Linked DNA regions of Homo sapiens: all the other regions are linked to region 5. Evidence: promoter capture Hi-C in 16 types of primary human blood cells and fetal thymus (Javierre and others, 2016). All regions are on one chromosome and are shown on one strand. The core of a region is centred on a gene start or on the middle of the fragment in contact, and the rest is flanking DNA. Distances in the headings are between cores, read along the strand shown. Region 1 overlaps SSBP1 (single stranded DNA binding protein 1). Region 2 holds the start of MRPS33 (mitochondrial ribosomal protein S33). Region 3 overlaps AGK (acylglycerol kinase). Region 4 overlaps RBM28 (RNA binding motif protein 28). Region 5 holds the start of STMP1 (short transmembrane mitochondrial protein 1). Region 6 holds the start of SND1 (staphylococcal nuclease and tudor domain containing 1). Region 7 overlaps GCC1 (GRIP and coiled-coil domain containing 1).

What was found. Contacts are between HindIII fragments. The CHiCAGO score rates a contact against its expected background, and 5 or more counts as called.
Region 1: a contact is called between a fragment that was not itself captured here and the fragment with the promoter of STMP1 in region 5, in 4 of 17 cell types (total CD4 T cells, non-activated CD4 T cells, total B cells and 1 more). The highest score is 11.4, in total CD4 T cells.
Region 2: a contact is called between a fragment that was not itself captured here and the fragment with the promoter of STMP1 in region 5, in 1 of 17 cell types (fetal thymus). The highest score is 13.7, in fetal thymus.
Region 3: a contact is called between a fragment that was not itself captured here and the fragment with the promoter of STMP1 in region 5, in 3 of 17 cell types (naive CD4 T cells, total CD8 T cells and total B cells). The highest score is 9.3, in naive CD4 T cells.
Region 4: a contact is called between a fragment that was not itself captured here and the fragment with the promoter of STMP1 in region 5, in 1 of 17 cell types (total B cells). The highest score is 5.8, in total B cells.
Region 6: the fragment with the promoter of SND1 here is called in contact with the fragment with the promoter of STMP1 in region 5 in 2 of 17 cell types (total CD4 T cells and non-activated CD4 T cells); the score reaches 7.2 in total CD4 T cells.
Region 7: a fragment that was not itself captured here is called in contact with the fragment with the promoter of STMP1 in region 5 in 2 of 17 cell types (naive CD4 T cells and fetal thymus); the score reaches 8.4 in naive CD4 T cells.

What each region holds. Positions count from the first base shown.
Region 1 is chr7:141,745,016-141,747,715 of GRCh38, forward strand. It overlaps SSBP1 (single stranded DNA binding protein 1), which reads left to right. Exons shown (of 7, transcript NM_003143.3): 6 at 481-569. Among named protein-coding and RNA genes, the nearest start is that of SSBP1, 8.0 kb to the left of the region's middle. RefSeq lists a silencer at 2,395-2,537. The HindIII fragment of the contact is 1,653 bases long and covers 625-2,277 here.
Region 2 is chr7:141,012,638-141,015,337 of GRCh38, forward strand. It overlaps MRPS33 (mitochondrial ribosomal protein S33), which reads right to left and starts at 2,315. Exons shown (of 3, transcript NM_053035.3): 1 at 2,274-2,315. RefSeq lists enhancers at 754-823, 1,966-2,611, 2,074-2,123, 2,644-2,700 and a silencer at 2,188-2,496. The HindIII fragment of the contact is 2,107 bases long and covers 274-2,380 here.
Region 3 is chr7:141,553,281-141,555,980 of GRCh38, forward strand. It overlaps AGK (acylglycerol kinase), which reads left to right. Exons shown (of 16, transcript NM_018238.4): 2 at 2,173-2,287. The coding sequence starts at 2,187. Among named protein-coding and RNA genes, the nearest start is that of AGK, 3.2 kb to the left of the region's middle. The HindIII fragment of the contact is 5,219 bases long and covers 1-2,700 here.
Region 4 is chr7:128,335,055-128,337,754 of GRCh38, forward strand. RBM28 (RNA binding motif protein 28) reads right to left here. Exons shown (of 19, transcript NM_018077.3): 6 at 2,077-2,148; 7 at 793-988; 8 at 489-625. Among named protein-coding and RNA genes, the nearest start is that of RBM28, 7.5 kb to the right of the region's middle. The HindIII fragment of the contact is 3,765 bases long and covers 1-2,700 here.
Region 5 is chr7:135,661,264-135,663,963 of GRCh38, forward strand. STMP1 (short transmembrane mitochondrial protein 1) reads left to right here and starts at 1,251. Exons shown (of 3, transcript NM_001130929.2): 1 at 1,251-1,331. The coding sequence starts at 1,317. RefSeq lists a silencer at 1,126-1,345 and enhancers at 1,985-2,509, 2,510-2,700. The HindIII fragment of the contact is 1,162 bases long and covers 476-1,637 here.
Region 6 is chr7:127,650,790-127,653,489 of GRCh38, forward strand. It overlaps SND1 (staphylococcal nuclease and tudor domain containing 1), which reads left to right and starts at 1,405. Exons shown (of 24, transcript NM_014390.4): 1 at 1,405-1,662. The coding sequence starts at 1,585. SND1-DT (SND1 divergent transcript) reads right to left here and starts at 1,043. Exons shown (of 2, transcript NR_186577.1): 1 at 884-1,043. RefSeq lists a silencer at 954-1,203 and enhancers at 1,001-1,619, 1,444-1,623. The HindIII fragment of the contact is 9,151 bases long and covers 1-2,700 here.
Region 7 is chr7:127,582,351-127,585,050 of GRCh38, forward strand. GCC1 (GRIP and coiled-coil domain containing 1) reads right to left here. Exons shown (of 2, transcript NM_024523.6): 1 at 1,801-2,700; 2 at 1-959. The region is part of intron 1 of LOC105375490 (a long non-coding RNA gene); the gene reads right to left. Among named protein-coding and RNA genes, the nearest start is that of GCC1, 1.9 kb to the right of the region's middle. RefSeq lists enhancers at 676-1,875, 1,594-2,594, 2,595-2,700. The HindIII fragment of the contact is 4,362 bases long and covers 1-2,700 here.

The DNA of each region.
Region 1 (2,700 bases), core at 201-2,700, 6.1 Mb after region 5:
AAATAGTCTTAGTAATTAACTCAGGGTAATATTATACTAAACTAACTACAAATCCATATTTTGAATTTTAATCATCTAAGTTTCTAAGGTCATAGAAAATAATTGATAAATAAGTGAAAATCAAGTCTGTTAGGGACTCCAAAATCAAAGGTCAAGGAAAATGATACATTGGAAATTATTCCTAGAGATTTAAATGTTGCCACTAAATTTCCCTTTGAACTGTTTTGTTTTATTTTTTAACTTCCGTAAGAGAAATAGCTGACAGATGAAAACATTGTCTGTTTTACCTAGATGTTACCAAGTCTGTTTGGACACTCTGTTTCAGTACTCCTAATCCTGAACCTTGAGAAGTGGTAGCAAAAATTAGCTTATATATGATTATATATTTCATCCTTGTCATATACTCAGTACCACCCTGACCTGACTCTTATAAAGCATATTAAGATCTCAACTAAAAACTGTACATTTTATTTATATCAGGTCTCGAATTTATTTGGAAGGGAAAATAGACTATGGTGAATACATGGATAAAAATAATGTGAGGCGACAAGCAACAACAATCATAGCTGGTAAGAAGCTTGTGAAAATAGCTGTTTTTTTCTTTTTCTCCTTTTCTTTTTTAAAAGCTTGGCTACACTGTAACTAACTAGGGTTAAGAGTACCAGTACTTATGAGTTAAGGCAACTCACTAGAAGATGTCCATAACTCTTATTTCTCTACTTGCTAAGAGTTTGTACATTTATCCCTTCCTTTAAAAAATTATTTTTATACTTACAGTTTTAGTCACAAGTAACTTTTGAATAAAGCCTAAAACTGAATTATCCATCCCAGTACTTATTGTTGAGAATTACAAAAACTCTGAATGTATTGTCTTTTGGAAGGATCTAGCCCTAACCAGGAAGAAGCGTATGCCAAGATAAGAATTACACTAATGTGAGTGTGCAGATTTATTCGGAACCTCTTTGGTACTTAGTATGTGAAATTTCTATTTGAAATTAAGATTTTTTTAATTTTATTTTTTTTGAGCCAGAATCTCACTCTGTCACCCAGGCTGGAGTGCAATGGCACAATCTCGGCTCATTGCAACCTCTGTCTCCTGGATTCAAGTGATTCTCCTGCCTCAGCCTCCTGAGTAGCTAGGATTATAGGTGCGTGCCACACCACCTGGCTAATTTTTGTAATTTTCGTAGAGGCGGGGTTTCACCATGTTGGTCAGGCTGGTCTTGAACTCCTGACCTCAGGTGATCCATCCACCTCGGCCTCCCAAAGTTGTGAGATTACAGGCATGAGCCACTGTGCCCAGCCAAGAAGTTTTTAATTTTCTCTTTTTTTGTTTTTGTTTTGAGACAGGGTCTCCCTCTGTCAACCAGGCTGGAGTGCAATGGTGTGATCACAGCTTACTGCAGCCTCTACCTCCCCAGGCTCAGGTGATCTTCCCACCTCAGCCTTCTCCCAAGTAGCTGGGACAACAGGTGTACACCATCATGCCTGGCTAATTTGTCAATTTTTTTGTAGAGATGAGGTTTCACCATGTTGCCCAGGCTGGTCTCAAACTGCTGGGCTCAAATGATCCTCCCACCTTAGCCTCCCCAAATACTGGAATTACAGGCATGAGCCATTATGCCCGGCCTAATATTCTCTTTAAACAAAATACAGTACAACATAGAAAAGATGTACACGTAAAGGTTAAAGAAGATTAAGAAGATATCCCTTAGGAAAGAGTTTTTAAACTTTTGAAAATGCTATAAGAATTTTGAAAATAATATACCCCTCTGGATGTCTGCAAGCGACATTAAGAAATTTTTTTCAATACAAAATTGTGTTATTTTTAAATGTATCAATGGAATCTAAATAGCATAGCAATGTGATACCTACTATCCTGTAAAAAAATACCAGTTCAGCATTTGGAAATTTTCCATTATTCTTTTTTCTTTGAACTTGTTTTACTGTTTTTATTTTCCCCTCAGAAGTGTATCTTAATAGTATATGGTATAGTTAAGAACTTTTTATTACCCTGTTTGTAACAAAAATGCATGCATAAAAGAAACTTTAAAATATTTAAAAGAATTCTATGACAAATTCTTCTCAATTGACTTATCATTAAAGTTGTTTTTAGTACCTAATTGATCAAAACAATTTTAATGTATTTAAATTATATTGGAAATATGTCTTTAAATGAGATAGATGGTGCTTTTTTCACTTCTTGAGTAAATTGCTAAAATTAGACATTGTGAATTTTGTGCTTTTGTTTGCTTTTATGGACATAAATACTAAGAAAGCTTTTTAAAATAAATACATGGCAATAAACTAAATTTTACTATATTAATGTTTCTGTGTTTATGAACTTCTGAGATATGCCCAAATTAGATTTTTTTTTTTTTTTTTTTTTTTTGAGACAGCGTCTCACTCTGTTGCCCCGGCTAGAGTACAGTGACACGATCCTGGCTCACTGCAACCTTCGCCTCCCGGGTTCAAGCGATTCTCCTGCCTCAGCCTCCTGAGTAGCTGGGACTACAGGCACGCGCCACCACGCCCAGCTAATTTTTGTATTTGTAGTAGAGATGGGGTTTCACCATATTGGCCAGGCTGGTCTCGAACTCCTGACCTCGTGATCTGCCCACTTCAGCCTCCCAAAGTGCTGGGATTACAGGCGTGAGCCACCGTGCCCGGCTAGATAATATTTTTTAAAAATTGATTTTT
Region 2 (2,700 bases), core at 77-2,576, 5.4 Mb after region 5:
TGTTTGCTTAATTACCATTGTGGCATCAGAATATATTTCTGCTGTAATTGCACAGTATTTCCACAGTTAGTTATCTGTAAGCTGGTATGGGAACTATCAGTTTGTTACAGTGTTTTCAGGAAAATCTGTTCTGAATTCCAAGTCCCTTTATTTGTCAATGAAGAGGCAACAGGGATTCCTGAGGCCTAGGTTTGACTACTGGCTCTGTCACTTAATCCTTGGGTTATTGTGAACAGTTACTCATCTTCTCTGAGTCTCCTTTTCTGAAAACAAAGCTTGCATGACTAGTGCGAAAATGAGTAACAGTGGCACTGAGTAGTAAATGGTAACTTACAAAAAAGAACGAGCCCAGATCTGTAAGTTTGGTTTTCATATATTCTACATAGACACATTTGTTTATTCCTTGTTCTTAATCATGTTTAAGAAAAAAAAAAAAAGAGAGAGAGACAGACAGATAGATACTCCATATAGTAAAAACTTTGTGCCTCCCTGGAATGATGACCTCATTTACAAAGACTGACAGCCAGAGAAACATAGGGAGAGGACCAGCACCTTGATAACTTGACAAGATAGCCAGGAGGAGGAAGGGACTCAGTAGGACAGTAGTCACTGAAGCCATCACAGGATGCTGCTGTTATGTCCATGCCCATTTTGGAATGTGGCAAATTACTGGGATACATAACTTGTAAGTAAAAAGGTCACACTAGAATAGGCTGGAACATGGTTATATCATAAAATCCAAGTCCTAAAGTTTTATGACAGAGAAAGGGAATAAGCCTTTTCAAACCTGAATCCCTTACTAGAAACAAAGGCCCACTTGCTAAACAGGAGGAAACTGAAAGTGGTTTTAACAATTACCAATGACACTGCTTTGTTGTTTCCTTCCACAGTGCACAGACACATGTCTCTCACGAAGAATAACACGGGAGCTTTTCTTACAACGTGCATGTCAATTACATTTTGATTCACATGAAACCATTCTCGGGGAGTACAAGTCACTTTAAGTGTTACCTTTCTTTAAATGTGAACTAAAGAAAACTGTACTCTCATGAAAAAAGTTAACTGGAGCTGAAAATGCTAAGCAAAAACAAATTACTCAAATGTGCTGAGCAAAACAAATTAAGCCCACATGAGAAGAAAATTCCCATATTTTTACTTTGGCATAACAGGGCAAACTTCTTTGATCTTTTTGATAGGTCTGATGCATTTAAAAGATTATTTCAATAAGTGGCTTTGTATTAGGTTTGCCTTTTCTCTTTGAAAGGTAAAGATGAAGTGCAAGAGTTCTTAACCGGGATGTGCTTCAGCGTTTTGAAAACAGTGGAAGTGTACATCTGTATGCCGATATGTGTATGTATGTGTGTGTGTAAATTGTTCTGGGAGAGAGCTTTCTCCAGTTTCCCAAAAACCATTGGTTAGCAGAACGCACCAGCTGCAGAATAAAAAAGCTGGTTGGAATCTCGCCTCTGCCTTTTAATGGCCACGTCGTTTTTGTAATGGTGCTTATTCTCTGCCAGGTTCTCTCATCGACTACACGAGGACAGTCATACTATCTGCGATGTGAAGCTAATATGCAAAATTCACGGCACAGTGCCCACCCTAATAACCATCAGGATCCAAGGAATTCACATACAGTGTACACACGTTGTCATAGAAACAATCTAAACATAAAAACAATCTCAACAGAATGCTTAAAAACAAAAAAACCCGGTACCGATTATTTTACGGAGTCATAGAGGCATCAACGGCACTGAAAATGTATTAGCTGCATTCAGTTCATCAAGAACAATCTTCAACTCCCTCCACCTGACTCGATCATGCCTGACTGTGATGGAAACTGTAGTATTGTCAAGTCAACCGATGTTTGACTCGGGAGCGCATTTCGCAAATATTTTTCTTAAATATCACCTTACCGTATTTTTCTTAAGGTGGTTACAAAATTAATCTGCAGCCCACCACCCAAAGCTACAGTGCCGAAGGCCGTGTGATGAGCAGAGAAACTGAGCCTTCTACTGTTAACCAATATGGAAGAGAGTAATTGCGCCTGAGAGGAAATTACGGCAGCGGAAACGCGGGTATTCTACGTTTAAGAAATCCCCCAACTGAGGCAGAAAAAGGCCAAGTTATTTGTGTGATGCACGTGAACCGCCCGAGCTGGTCACTAATGAAGTGGATTCGCCCTATTCCTGGCGACTCTACAAGGTTGGAGACCCCCGTAGACTTCGCAGCCATCGCCCCTTGCTGCAGACCCCCAAAGTCACCGACAGCCTTACCTAGACCTGACCTTCCTCACCCACGCGCCCTCGTCCCGGAAGGCCCGCCCTCTACCCGGCTCCAAGCTCGCGCAGGCAACTATTACGGGGAGCAGTAGAGAAACGGAAGCTTGGCAGCTAGAGCGGAGCCCTAGTGAACGACCCGGAGTTACTGGCTCCCCCTCCTGAGGCCTCCGAGGTGTACCTGGCGCCTGCGCAGTAAGGCTAGCGCCGCCGCCTGTGCGGAGGACCCGGGGAGGTGGTGGGCTGGGGAGAGTTAGAAAGGTCTGGCTCTCCTGGAAGGGCATGCACGGTTCGGTAGTATGTTTTGGTGGGAATGGCTACAGACCTGCCTCCAAAAGCTCTGAAGCAATGGCGATGCGTGTGCCGTGTGGTCTTTCTGACCGACTTGCGGCGCCATCCCCCTCCCCTTCCATCTATCTGCTCA
Region 3 (2,700 bases), core at 192-2,691, 5.9 Mb after region 5:
ATCTCAATGGGGATAGGGCTTCCACATCACCATTTTTGGGGAACACAGCATTCAGACAATAGCATCCACAAAACTCCTTCGTTACTTTAGTGATTTCCTCCTCATTATTCAAGGCTCAGGGAAGACTTCATTGACTGTGCACCACCCCCTCAGCCCTAGACCAGGTTAGGTTCATTCTTGCAGACTCTCACAAAGCCTTGTGCTGACTCCTCGACATTTATCCCACTGTACTGCAATCATAATTGTATAATTGTGTTAGCATTGTGGGTTTGACAGTTGTGAGCACTTGAGAGAACGCATGAGACCCATTCTTCTCTGCCCTCACCCCCAGCACAGAGCCTACCATATAGGTGTTTATTAAAGGGCTCTTGAATGAAGGAGTGATTTAGGGCCAGATGGAGAGGAGTTCAAGAATTAGTTGGGCCTTTGGAATCATGTGTCAGCCTGACGGTGTATGGGATTCACAGGAAGATGGTCTCCCTGGCACTGGCTTCACTGCTGCTTTTGATAAGGATGTTTCTACCCTTGAGAGGAATTTTAACCAATGGGATTTAAAGGGAGTCATAAAAGAACTGGACTTTTAAGTGGAAACAGTTTTTTTTTTCTTGGTCTATATACCTCACTAACAGATAGTCATAAAAAAATTTTGCTTAAATTTTTGTTTATCTAGAAAATAAGTTCATTTTCAAAAACTTAGAAAGTACATTGCAATTTTAAAAATAAACATCACCCACCATTCCACAACCTAGAGGGATCTACTTTAAAATTTCGTTTTTGAGCCAGGTGCAGTGGCTCACGTCTGTAATCCCAGCAATTTGGATGGCCAAGGCGGGAGGATTGCTTGAGGCCAGGAGTTTGAGACCAGCCTGGGCAACATAGTGAGACCTTGTCTCTAACAAAAAAAGGAAAGAAAAAAATTAGCCAAGTGTAGTGGTATGTGCCTGTGGTCCCAGCTACTTGGGAGGCTGAGGCAGGAGATTTGTTTGGGCCCAGAAGTTATAGTGAGCTATGATTGTGCCACTGGACTCCATCCTAGGTGACAGAGTGAGACCCTGTCTAAAAAAAAAAAAAAAAAAATTGTTTTTGTTTAATTGTATTGGTTTTCTTTTTAAATTTATACTCATGTTTGAACATAATTGGTATAATGCCAATTATATATGGCTTTTTATCCTGCTAATTTTACTTAACATTATGTTTTGGGTTTTTTCCCCCATCAGTAAAAATTTTGGGTAAAAAAATATTTAATTGCTATTTAACTTATTCATTGAACAAATATTTCTTAAACAGCTATTGTGTGCCGGATCTTACTTTAGGCATGGGATACAGCAGTGACCAGAATTATGTCCTTACTCTCATGGAGTTTACATTCCAGTAGGATTAGGCTAATAAATGAGCAAATGAATATAAGCATCACCAAATAATAAATGTCATGAAGAATAAAGATATTCTATAGTGTCACTCTGTTTTTTAGTAAAGTCTTCCTAATTTACCTTCTTTAAAGGAGTGTATGAGTGTCTATCATTTTGTTATGTCATCAGTGAATATGATCATTTAAAAATTTATTTTGGTCAATAATGATAGTTCTTTGTAATATGCATGTCTGATTATTCAGGAAGTTGAACATTTTTAGATAGCCATGTACATTGCCTCTTCATTGAGTTTTCTATCCATGTTTTCTGTTTCTTTTCCTATTGAGGACCTGGTATTTTCTTCTATTTTGAACTCGCCCTTCATATTATTATTTTTTGGGACACTTACATTATGATGGATAGACAAATGTATACTCTTAAACAGTGGTACAGTGAGGCTGTAAGGAGTTAGAAAAACCAGAGGAAGCCTGGAATTCCCTTCCTCTCTTTCTGCCCCTCCCTCTTCCTTCTATTGCAATGAAGAAATAGTGATCAGAGAGGGAAGAAGTATAGGTTAGGTGGAAATACGTGAAGGAAGAAAGAAAGGTGGATGGATGTGTGGGTGGATGAGAAGATGAAGATGATGGAAATAGAAGGGAGAAGATGAGCTGAGGCCAGAGGAGAAGTGGTAAGGAGGAAGAGGAGTGAGTGGGAAAAAAAGGAGTGAGAGAGGATAAAAGAATGGAAGACAGAGTAATAGGGACATTACATGAAGACCATGGATAAATTATATTTTTTTCTCTTTCCGCCTCTACTAACCTAGCAAATCTCTAGAAGATGACGGTGTTCTTTAAAACGCTTCGAAATCACTGGAAGAAAACTACAGCTGGGCTCTGCCTGCTGACCTGGGGAGGCCATTGGCTCTATGGAAAACACTGGTAACTATCTGACAGCCCCATCCCACCTTTGCATCTGCAGCAAAACAGCCCCAAAGGGCCTCAGGTTAAAATCTTGCTCAGCTGTGCTTATCCCTATAAAACATGTGGTGTAAAAGAAAAATAAATGCTATTCAAAGCAAAAACAAAGACTTCTTGTAACCAGAGCTGGAACTACATGCATACTTATATCCAGTGGTTAGAGAATAAAGTAGAGACATCAGAAAGGAAGCTATTTTTATTCATTATATTTATAGTGGAAGAGATTAAGACATCTTAGAGAAAGAGAAGTCCTTTCCCAAGTTAGTAGTGTGAACCCCCAAAATCTGAGACAGGTCTTAGTCAATTTAGTAAGTTTATTTTGCCAAAGTTAAGGACGTGCGCCTGCGACACAGCCTCAGGAAGTTCTGATGACA
Region 4 (2,700 bases), core at 56-2,555, 7.3 Mb before region 5:
TTCTGCTGTTTAAGCCACCCAGTTTATGGTATTTTGTTATGTCAGTCCAAACTGACTAAACAGTTCTTTATCCCCATCTCAACTCCAAGGAGTTGTTTAAAATCTAGCTTGATGTTGAGATGGTTATATCATCTGTTTCATCTATATTATCTGTATAAGATGCTGTTTACCTGGTTATTCTATCAAGTTGGACAATCCAGAGAGAGGTAGAACCTCAGCATTAAGCTAGGTTTTCAATTCCCTAAGAATCTTAACCCTCAAACACCACTCCAAAACTCACTTAAAAAACAAAACAAACAAAAAGGAAACAACAAAAAAACCTTTGGAAGAAAGGAGTATAAAGGTTTCCTTTTCAGCATTTAAACATAAATTTGATAGAACACCTTAGAGTCCTATTTAAAAAGAGATCTAAGCAGAACTGATGCTCATTTCCGTAACTTCAGTAACTTTTTTAAAGTCTAAAGACATTTATGAAAATCCAAACAAACCTTTATCCTCTTGCTCCTCAGTGCTGGTATCACTCTGAGCCAGTTCCTCTCCATCATCAATACTATCGCTTTCCTCTAGGTCACTGTCCTCCTCAGAATGATCACTGCTTTTTGCAGGGGCTGGTCTCTTGACTGCTCTGCAATGGCACAGATCAGAACTAAGGAGGTGGGCTGACAGAGGGCCTATTCAATTTCATTACACATGTCAATTCTGCAATGATGCAGGCAGAAAAAGGAGAATTTTTCCTCTCGGAGACAATCTTGAATCTTCCTCTGCTGTCTCAGAACAGGATGAGCTGCTTACCTCTTCTGAATTTGCACAGGCTTGGTCACCTTTGATTCTATATTCTCTTCCTCTTCATCTTCATCATCAAAAACCCCATCTTCTTCATCATCATCATCGTCATCATCATCGTTTTCTTCCTCTTCCATATCCTCTTCCTCTCTGCCCTTCTTTTTAACTGATTCCTGATGTTTAGATTCATGGCTCTTTTCCTCACCTATGGAGGGAGGTAAAGAAAGGAGGAATTCATTTAATATCCAAAACAATGTTATTTTAACAAAAGTAACCAATACTCCAAGTTCTTGGTTTCATCGGTTTTACAGAATTTCGTATATTTTTCTTACTGCATATAACAGGAGAAAGTATAAAGAAAAGAAAAAGCAAAAACAGAAATAAACAAAACTCTCAACACCCAGATTCCTTTAGAGTTTGTCCCATTCATCAGTCTGAAGGTTCATCTGGCCCAGACTGAAAGAAGTGGCAACTGAGCCTCTCCAAGCAGTCTACCATTCGTACATCATAGCCAGCAAAATGCTCACTAGGGGGCAAAGCCAAGCCATGAACTTTAATCTCAGTGCGTTCTATTCTCTGAGACCCTGGTGGCTTACCAGCCAATTGTTTTCTAAATAAACCTCAAGTTTTAAGTTTCTCTATTCTTAATGTTCCATCACTCCTATTATGCACAGCCTGGAAACAACAGCAAGTAAAGGGGACAGTGAACTCAGGCTCACTCACAGCCACTCCCAGGAAGGGGCTTAGACTCAAAAGAGCCTAGGTTTTGGGACCAGAGCACCAAATGGTACAATATGAATTGACAAACAGACCTGGACTCACTTCTGAGCCAGCAGGAATTCAGAGTTTTCCCTGAAAGCCCAGTCTCATTCTTTTGGTTAATCTTCCACAATAGTCTTACTCTGATAAGCAGGTTCTCTTACACTTTTTTTTTGAGACGAAGTCTCGTTTTGTTGCCCAGGCTGGAGTGCAGTGGGGTGATCTCGGCTCACTGCAACCTCTGCCTCCCAGGTTCAAGAACCTGCCTCAGCCTCCCAAGCAGGTGGGATGACAGGCGCCCACCACCAAGCCCAGCTAATTTTTGTATTTTTAGTAGAGATGGGGTTTTGCATGTTGGCCAGGCTGGTCTCAAACTCCTGACTGCAAGCAATCCACCCAAAGTGCTGGAATTACAGGCAAGAGCCACTGCACCCAGCCTTTTTCTTACACTTTTATCATGAACACAGGAGTTGTTTCAATACTCTCACCCAGGTTATACAACGCCCCTACTCACCCAACACTACCACATCTTACCTATAGCAGAAACAGACTGTGTATCTTTATATTTATCCTTTGCCACGGCCCAATCCACAGCCACTGTCCGGCCTGTCAAGCAGAAAAGTGGCATCAGAAAGGCTCTCCTTTTAAAAACCCTACCTCTGTAAATGACCCCTAGTCATCACAGACAATAATGGAACCAGTGGAGACAAAGAAACTGCCAATTCAGGGAATGCTGGTCTTAAAATAAAGCTCCTAGTCACTGCCTACTCCTTTTAACCCTTAACCTTTTTATCAATGAACAGAAATTTTGCCTTTCTACATAGCCACCACACCTGGGATAAGATGGAGTAAAAAAATAAAGAATTAGAACTATGTTTCCAGTTAGACTATCAGGAATCAAAACAGGCATTCTGGAATCATCTGCACCCTACCTGGAAGCTAGGACATCTCTACGGCAATAACTTCTTTTTTTTTTTTTTGAGACACAGTCTCGCTCTGTCGCCCAGGCTGGAGTGCAGTGGTGCCATCTCAGTTCACTGCAACCTCCGCCTCCAGGTTCAAGCGATTCTCCTGCCTCAGCCTCTTGAGTAGCTGGGATTACAAGCATGCACCACCACACCTGGCTAATTTTTGTATTTTCAGTAGAGACGGGGTTTC
Region 5 (2,700 bases), core at 1-2,500:
AAACACACACATACACAGACCGGAAGACTGACAGAACAGACTCTTTGTGGCGATGATACAAATTGTCAACAGGACCTATGGCCATCCCAGGCAAGAAACCCAGCTAGGCCAGTGAAACTGAGAGCCAACCTGATGAGGCCTGCCAAATGCAACTTCTCTCACTTGTTTTTAGTCACCTGCTTTTAGTGGATTAAAAAACCCACATAGCTAAAGTCACAGAGCTAAACAATATATATCTAAGCTCCCACTATCTTCCTTATGGATAACATCTCTGACATCTGGGTTGCTTGATAAAGGTTTCTTGTTTTTCAGGAAGTTGGGGTCAGTTCTTGTACAGTTTAAACCACCAACCTCTCAACTGGGCCTGCATGAAAGCCCGATGGGTGTCCTTCTGACATTAGAGGGCCAAAACCTCCACACTCAGATCATGCTAAGGATGTCATTTTGTGACCATGTATCCTATAAAGAGCCATGAAGCTTGACTACCTCGCGCAGATAACCCATTGCCAAACTTTTCCTTACCTTCAACCGCCTTTCCCCACACCTCAGACCACCCTGCTCCTCTATCCCATAAATATCCCTAAAACCCATCTTTGGGGAGGCAGATTTGAGATCTGTTCTCCCGTCTCCTCGGCTGGCTGCCTGGTGAATAAACCTTTTCTCTGCTACAAAACTCATCATCTCAGTGACTGGCGTGCGGCACACGGCAGCATGGGCCCCATACGGTACCCAGCCTCTACCTTGATTACACAACACCTGATTACACAACGCTGATTACACAGCACACCTGCGGAGCTTTGAGAGCTACAAGCCTCCTTTCCTCCCCGCAAAGTCCAGCTGGGCCCAAGTAGAGGATGCTGCAAAAGCCCCCACGATTCAGCTGCGAACCTAGGGATGGGACCCGCTGCTCATGCCGTCCTTCTAGGTTAGAGAGCCCTAAACTGGGCTGTGTATCAGAATAGTCCGCGTGCTGAGAATAATATAGATTCCTGGGCCTCGGCCCAGGTTTACAGAGGCGGGATGCTCAAGGATGCCCAGCCAGGCTCGGGACTTGCTCTTCGCAAGTCCTGTCGCGCGCTCGCTGCCCCGCCGGTTCAGGCGGTGAGGCCAACGCGCTCCGCCAGGGGGAACCTGGGCGCTGCGACACTGCAAGTCGTTTCCGGGCGCGGGCTGAGTGGGAGGAGCGGGGCGGGGCGTGGCGTGACCCGGAAGTCGACGAGGGGTTCCGCCCCCCCCGCGCATGGGGAGGTAGGCTCGGACCGGCCCGCGGAGCTGCTGCAGTCCTTCGCGCCCTCCTCGCCCTCCCCACCGACATCATGCTCCAGTTCCTGGTGAGTGGAGCTGCCGAAGAGCGGGGCCCGCTGCCTGGGGCGTGCCTCGGACCCCATTTCCCCCTTGAGGATTGCCGACCCCGCCGACCCGGCCTGGGCGTGGGTCCAGCGGTCCCTTCGTCCCCCGCGCCTGGTCGTCGCCTCGCAGGGCGGCCGTTTTCTTCCTGCCTCCCCAGAAAATCCCTTTGCCAATATTTTTCTGCAGCCATCCAAGTCCCTAAAACTTTGAGGTGTCAGAGAGTGTGCGTTTCCAGAGCTTCTTATTGTGTGCCGCGCCCCGCGCTCATTGTGCAATCTTTGTATTAAAGCTTGTGTGGTCCTTGATGACTTTTCGTAGTCCGCCCCCCTTTCTTTCTGCGCTCCTGTTCCATTACATGGTCGCCGGCCGGTCCCTGCTGTGGAGCCCTGCTAGTTGGCTTTTCTGAGGAGGTAGGAAGGCCAGGAATAAACCGTAAATTAGCCACCTCACGAAGTCCGAGAGGCTAAGTCCTCATCAGACCTTTCAGAGTTGGAGGAATGAGTCAGACACTGGTATACAAGTAATTTTTCCCAAAATGTGTAAGCATGAGTAAGCAGACTATTTCTCTTGGCTCCTTATTTGAGTTAAAAACGAGTTTTCTGGCAAAACTCGGTATATTTCAAAAATTGCTTGGTGAAGGTTCCAGGAGTTGCTCATCAAATTTTCAAGTGAAAGTTTTTCTGCCAAGCTATTGTGCATTCAAAACTTGATGCTTTCAACCTCTATTTTTTTTTATTTTTTATTTTTTTTGAGACGGAGTCTCGCTGTGTCGTCAGGCTGGAGTGCAGTGGCGCAATCTGGGCTCACTGGAACCTCCGCCTCCCGGGTTCAACCGATTCTCCCTCCTCGGCCTCCGGAGTAGCTGGGATTACAGGCGCGCACCAGGATGCTCAGCTAATTTTTGTATTTTTAGTAGAGACGGGTTTCACCAAGTTGGCCAGGCTGGTCTCGAACTCCTGACCTCAAGTGATCAACCCACCTCAGCCTACGAAAGTGCTGGGATTACAGGCGTGAGCCACTGCTCCCGGCTCAAATGCTGTATCTTTTTTTGTTGTTTGTTTTAACGGAGTCCCGCTCTGTCGCCAGGCTGGAGTGCAGTAGTGCGATCTCGGCTCACTGCAGCCTCCGCTTCCTGGGTTTAAGCGATTCTCCTGCCTCAGCCTCCCGAGTAGCTGGTGCGCGCCAGCAGGCCCAGTTAATTTTTGTATTTTTAGTAGAGACGGGGTTTCACCCCGTTGGCCGGGATGGTCTCGATCTCCTGACCTCGGGATCTGCCTGCCTCAGCCTCCCAAAGTGCTGGGATTACAGGCGTGAGCCTCCGCGCCCGGCCCCAAATGCTGTATCTTTATC
Region 6 (2,700 bases), core at 155-2,654, 8.0 Mb before region 5:
ACCCTGGGATATGTTTAGTGTGGGAGAATAAACTTACAATCTTTTAAGAGAGCAAGGGGCCATGCACTGTGGTTAATGCATGTAATACCAGCACTTTAGGAGGCCGAGGTAGGAGTATAGCTTGAGCCCAGGAGACCAGCCTGGGCAACATAGTGAAATCTCAGCTCTACAAAAAAAAAATTAGCTGGGCGTGGTAGCGCGGACCCGTGGTACCAGCTCCAGCTACACCGGAGACTGAGGCAGGAGGATCGCTTGAGCCTGGGAGTGTCAAGGCTGCAGTGAGCCGTGATCGTGCCCCCGCACTCCAGCCTGAGCGACAGAGCGAGACTTTGTCTCAAAAAAGCCACAAAACCAAAGAAACAAAAAGAACTGCAAGGGAAGTACTGTCTTCAGTGTAGAGCCAAGTTTTACGATTAAATGACATAACACATGCAAGGTCCTTGGTTCCACATAGTGGGCACTCAACGAATATTAGTTCTCGCTAAACAGTCACTTAAATATTTGTAGGCCTTGGCTTTCCCGTTCCTTCCCCGACCTTTTTACTGGGGCTAGGGAAGGTATCCGGTGGCTGGAGGCGCTTCACACTGGGTCGGGTGAGAGCGTGAAGCGAGCCTTTTCCCTAACGTCACGGGAGCAGCTGGGAAGAGACCGAAGAACGAGGGTCACTCTCCCCTGTATACGTGGCATGTCCTTCCTCTGAGACATTTATTCCTCCCACCAACAAACATTAATGGAACGCCTCACAAGTGCTAGACCCCAGCGACACAAACAAGGGCGAGGCACACTCTCTGACTACAAAAAGGGCGCGCGGCCGCGTGGCAGGTCAAAGCCCACATCGGTAGGAGGTTCCACAAAGCTCTGATTTTCCAAGTTCTCTCCATACTTTTAGCCAAGGTAAAATGTCGGAAGTCGAGTGGAGCGGGTACGGAGATTCCTCCAGGACTCTGCCTGCGTGGCTCCACCCTCCCAGGCCGCATTCCCGGGTACAGCGGCGCCCACCTAGGTGGGTATACAAGTGTGCGCCCCTGAGGCCAGCGGGGAAGGACGTCATGGGCGAGGTCAGGCGGGAGGGCGCGGCTGGCTCCGCCCCTGGGGCTCCCATGGCCCCCCGCGCCCCGCGGCCAGATGCTGACGTGTCCTTTCCTTCCCACTACACCTCCCGACATTACCTACTCCGGCTGCCCCGGAAGTCCCGCCCCATATTTAGCCCATCCTTGCAAATCAACTCTTTCAGCGCTTCCTGGAACTCACCACCGTTTTGGGGACCAAGAGGCGGGGCTCCGCGAGCAGGGTGCCTATTGGCCTGAGGGCCGGCGGGCTCTGGGCGCTAATTGGGCGGAGGGCGGTGGCGCTCTGGCACGCTTGCGCGGCGAGTAGAACGTGTGGCGGCGGCGGAGATCGCGTCTCTTTCGCTCCGTGTCCCGCTGCTGCTCCTGTGAGCGCCCGGCGAGTCCGTCCCGTCCACCGTCCGCAGCTGGTAGCCAGCCTGCCCCTCGCCTCGACTCCCTTTCACCAACACCGACACCCACATTGACACCTCCAGTCCGGCCAGCCGCTCCACTCGTTGCCTTTGCATCTCCACACATGGCGTCCTCCGCGCAGAGCGGCGGCTCCTCCGGGGGACCCGCGGTCCCCACCGTGCAGCGGGGCATCATCAAGATGGTGAGAACGGGCCCCGGACACCGACCCCTCTGCCTGCCTTCGGGCGGGAGTCAGGCATTGACTCCACCTTCCGCCAGCCTGCTCCATGTCCCAGATCCCCTTTCCTCTGCCCCCTTCCTCACTTTTCGTCGATTCTCCGAATCCTCTCACTAGACGGAAGCAGACACGGAGTCCCCTTGTTCCTTGCCTCCCGGACACCTTGACATCAGGGGTCACAGTGATTTCCGAGGTTGCGGCATTCGGATCTCCTGTCTGTTTACCAGGACAGATCGATTACTGATTGATTAACAGAGACAATTCGTTGATATCTGTCCTCCCATCCCCCGTCTTTCTGTTCATTTTGACATATGCTGAGTAGTTAGTAGTTTTTCGAGATCCTGACATCGGCTCTTCTCTACTAGTACTTGGCCATCATGAAACTTTTCTGTTCCCACAAACGCTGTTACTTGACTCCCAAGTTTTCTCACTCTGTGGCCCTCTTTTCCTCTCTTTCCCTCCACCTCTTGTGTCGACCTGAAAGCTCCTGATCTTTGTGTACTTTTGACTTCTAAAAGGTTAGGCCGGCAAGAATCTTAGTAATCATCATTGTTCTCCCGTCCCTTAAAGATAAGGAGATAGGCTTGAAGAAGGCAAGTGACTTGCTTAAGGTCACATGGTGGTTTGGGTTGGAGCCATAGCAAGAGCCCAAGTGTTCGGATTCCTGGTCTAGTGCTCATAGCACTATAGATTCTGCCTGATTTTATATACCCTCAACTTTTTGAAAATTCTTCAATTTTGAATTTGAACCTGCAAAGTTTATTTTTACAATTTACTCCTAGCTCCATGATAATTTGATAATATAAATTCAGTTTATCACTTGCCCCCAGTTGTCCTCCCCAAAACCCTTCCAAATCTTGGAACCTGACATTTCTTGGTTTTACCAATTTTCTGGTTTATGATGACTGTAAACTTCTAGATGTCGTTTCATACTGCAGTTCTGACATTTGTATCTGCAACAGCAAATATCTTTTGTGATACTTTCTCCCAAGGCTCCACAAG
Region 7 (2,700 bases), core at 28-2,527, 8.1 Mb before region 5:
TCCTTGCGGGCCAGTTGCTCAGCGTACAGAAAGAAAGTGGGCTCATTGGCCGCTGCAAGTTGTAATGCTTGGGTCAGGCTATCAGAGGATGATGTGTCAGCTGGGTCCCCAGGACCGCCACCACCCACAGGACTTCTGCGTCCTGGCAGCCCAGAGGCCAAGGCCACAGAACGCAGTTGCTCCAGTTCCAAGTCCTTCTCGGTGAGCACAGCTAGGGCACGATCCCGCTGCTTGTGCAGCTCCTCCTCCAGTTTCAGTGTGCGGTCCCTGAAGTCCAGCTGGCACCGCTCCAGCTCCTGCCGGTGGAGCTGCTGCAGCCGGGCCAGCTCCTGCTTCCAGTCATCAGCCTCCTGCTGGTGTTGGTGCTCCAGCTCCTCGCAGGAGAGCCGCAGGGAAATATACTTCTCCTTCAGCTCTGCAAGCTGTTCCTGGGCTGCCTCCAGCTCCTTTCCCAGGTTACCATCTTTGGTATTCTTGCTTTTGAGGACAACCTGGGCTCTCATCTTGTACCTCTCAAACTCTTCCTTCAGCTGTTTCAGCTCCTGTTGGTAATAGAGTGCAGTAGCCTTCTCCCCATCAGCAGCCTCCGAGCTGGGCATTATCTCCAGGTCACAGAGCTTCTCCACATCCAGGGTCACCTGGCTTTTCCTGGCCGCAACCTGCAGCAGCCTCTTCAGCTTCTCCATCTTATCTTTCAGGACATTGACATCCAGACTGGACTCCTCTCCATGGCTGTCTAAAGGGGACCTGCTGGAGGCTGCTAGAGCCAGTGTCTTGTTCTCCAGGTCCAGCTGCAGAATGCGCTCCTTCAGCTTCTGAATGGCCAGCTGGTCCTTCTGCTTGGCTTTCTCGTAGGTGCCTAGCAGCTCAGACACCTCGGATATTTGATTCTCCAGGGCTGCCACCCTCTGTTCTTCTACCTGAGATTGCTGACGGAGTTGATCCTCTGCAAGAGCTGTCTGCAAAACAAGGGAACAGACAAAAATGCATCCACAAAAGCCCCACAGCAAACTCTGAGAAAGCAGGAGAGGGGAGCAAAAGGGTCACAGGTTTGGGATGGCCTGGCAAGAATGCTAACTAGGGATTTTTCGGTTGATTCAGGAGCTAACAAAAGTTCCTATTACCTGCTTGGATTCTGCAAGACACATATTATACTGAACAATATGAAGCACCTTGGTACATCTGCTATTGTTCTGCTTTCCACCTAACCACATATAATGTGTGTTACTGTTGTTTCTCAGGTGCTTCCTCAAATCCTATTAAGAAATCATACAGCATTCTTTTCCTTATCCAATATTCCTGGAAGTTCAAAACTGCGCTGGATCTCCCTCTCCACATTGAAAGGAGGCACCCTTTCAATACCTGTTCTGGAAAATAGCACTTCTCCAGAACAGGCACATCTTGAGTAAAGGCAATGACAAGAGGTTACTTCTGAGAAAATCCCCTTTGCCTTCGGCCACTCTTCCTAGAGGCACATACCAACAGAAGACACGCTACCTTTTACTATACAGCTGCCACTATACTGCTTCATAGAGCACAGCTGGTAAGATGCCAATGCCCAGAAGTGCAGAGCTGTCTGGCTTCAACCCAGCCTACACTGAGAAGCTCCACATCCTCCTGGAAGCACATATGTCAACACCGCATAGAACAGGACTTCCCAGGTTCACTAGTGGAACTTCTCAGGTGGCATCAAAAATGACAGTATAGACACTTAGCTCTAACTAGCAAAGGAGGAAAAAAACCCTAATATTTCTCACTTCAGGTCAATGGCTGATGTTTGAAAGAGATATGGATAATTACCTTTCTCATTTCCTGCTGTAACTGAGCCTGGAAATGGCTCTTAAGGCGGGCAGCCTCTTCCTGAAGTTCTTGCAGCCGGGGATCTGGCTGATTCTTCTCATCTCGAATGGCCTGCAGTTCACTTTTCAGCTCCTCCACCTCACGGGTCAGCTGCTTGGTCTGCAGTTCAAATCCTTCCATCTGTTCAGCTGCATATGCTCGTCCTGCCAAGGCTTCTCGGGTCTCTTCTAACCTAAGCTCCAAGTCCTGGCGCTGGGTCCTCTCCTCCTGCAGCAGCTTCTGGAGCTCACGCAGCATCAAGGCATGGTCACTCTGCTCTTGGGCCCGATCATGCTGCTGCGTGATAAGCCGGGCTTTGGTTTCTGCTATTTGCTCCTGCAGCCCCTTCAATTCTCCCTCCAGGCGGGCCCTCTCCTCCTCCGCCTTGTTACTGGCATCCTCTAAGTCCTGTTTCATCTTTTTCTTGTCAGCCAAGTAAGAAGCCTCCATGCGGGACTTCTCCTGAGTGACTGTAGCCAAAGAACTGGTCAAAGTAGCCAACTGAGTCTTCAGCTGGTGCAGTCTTTTGTCCACCTCCCCACCTGCAAATGGCCCATCCCCACTGCTACTGCTAACGCCACTCTCGGACCAACTGGCCTCTTCGGACTTTGGAGGTGGTGGTCCACGGGCCGGTCTGTCATCTTCTACCCCAAACTCACCCTTGGTGCTGGTGAGACTGGCCGCAGTATCCAAGCTAGTGGCGGTCCCAGTGCTATCCTCGCTGTGAGTGGAGCACCGGTCATCCACAGAGTCAGGAAAGGTGAGGCCTGGAAGCTGGACACCTGCGAGGCCCACATCTGCCTCGTGGGATACCGACAGCACCTTGATGCTGGCCTCTAATGCCTCTTTCTCCTTCAGCAG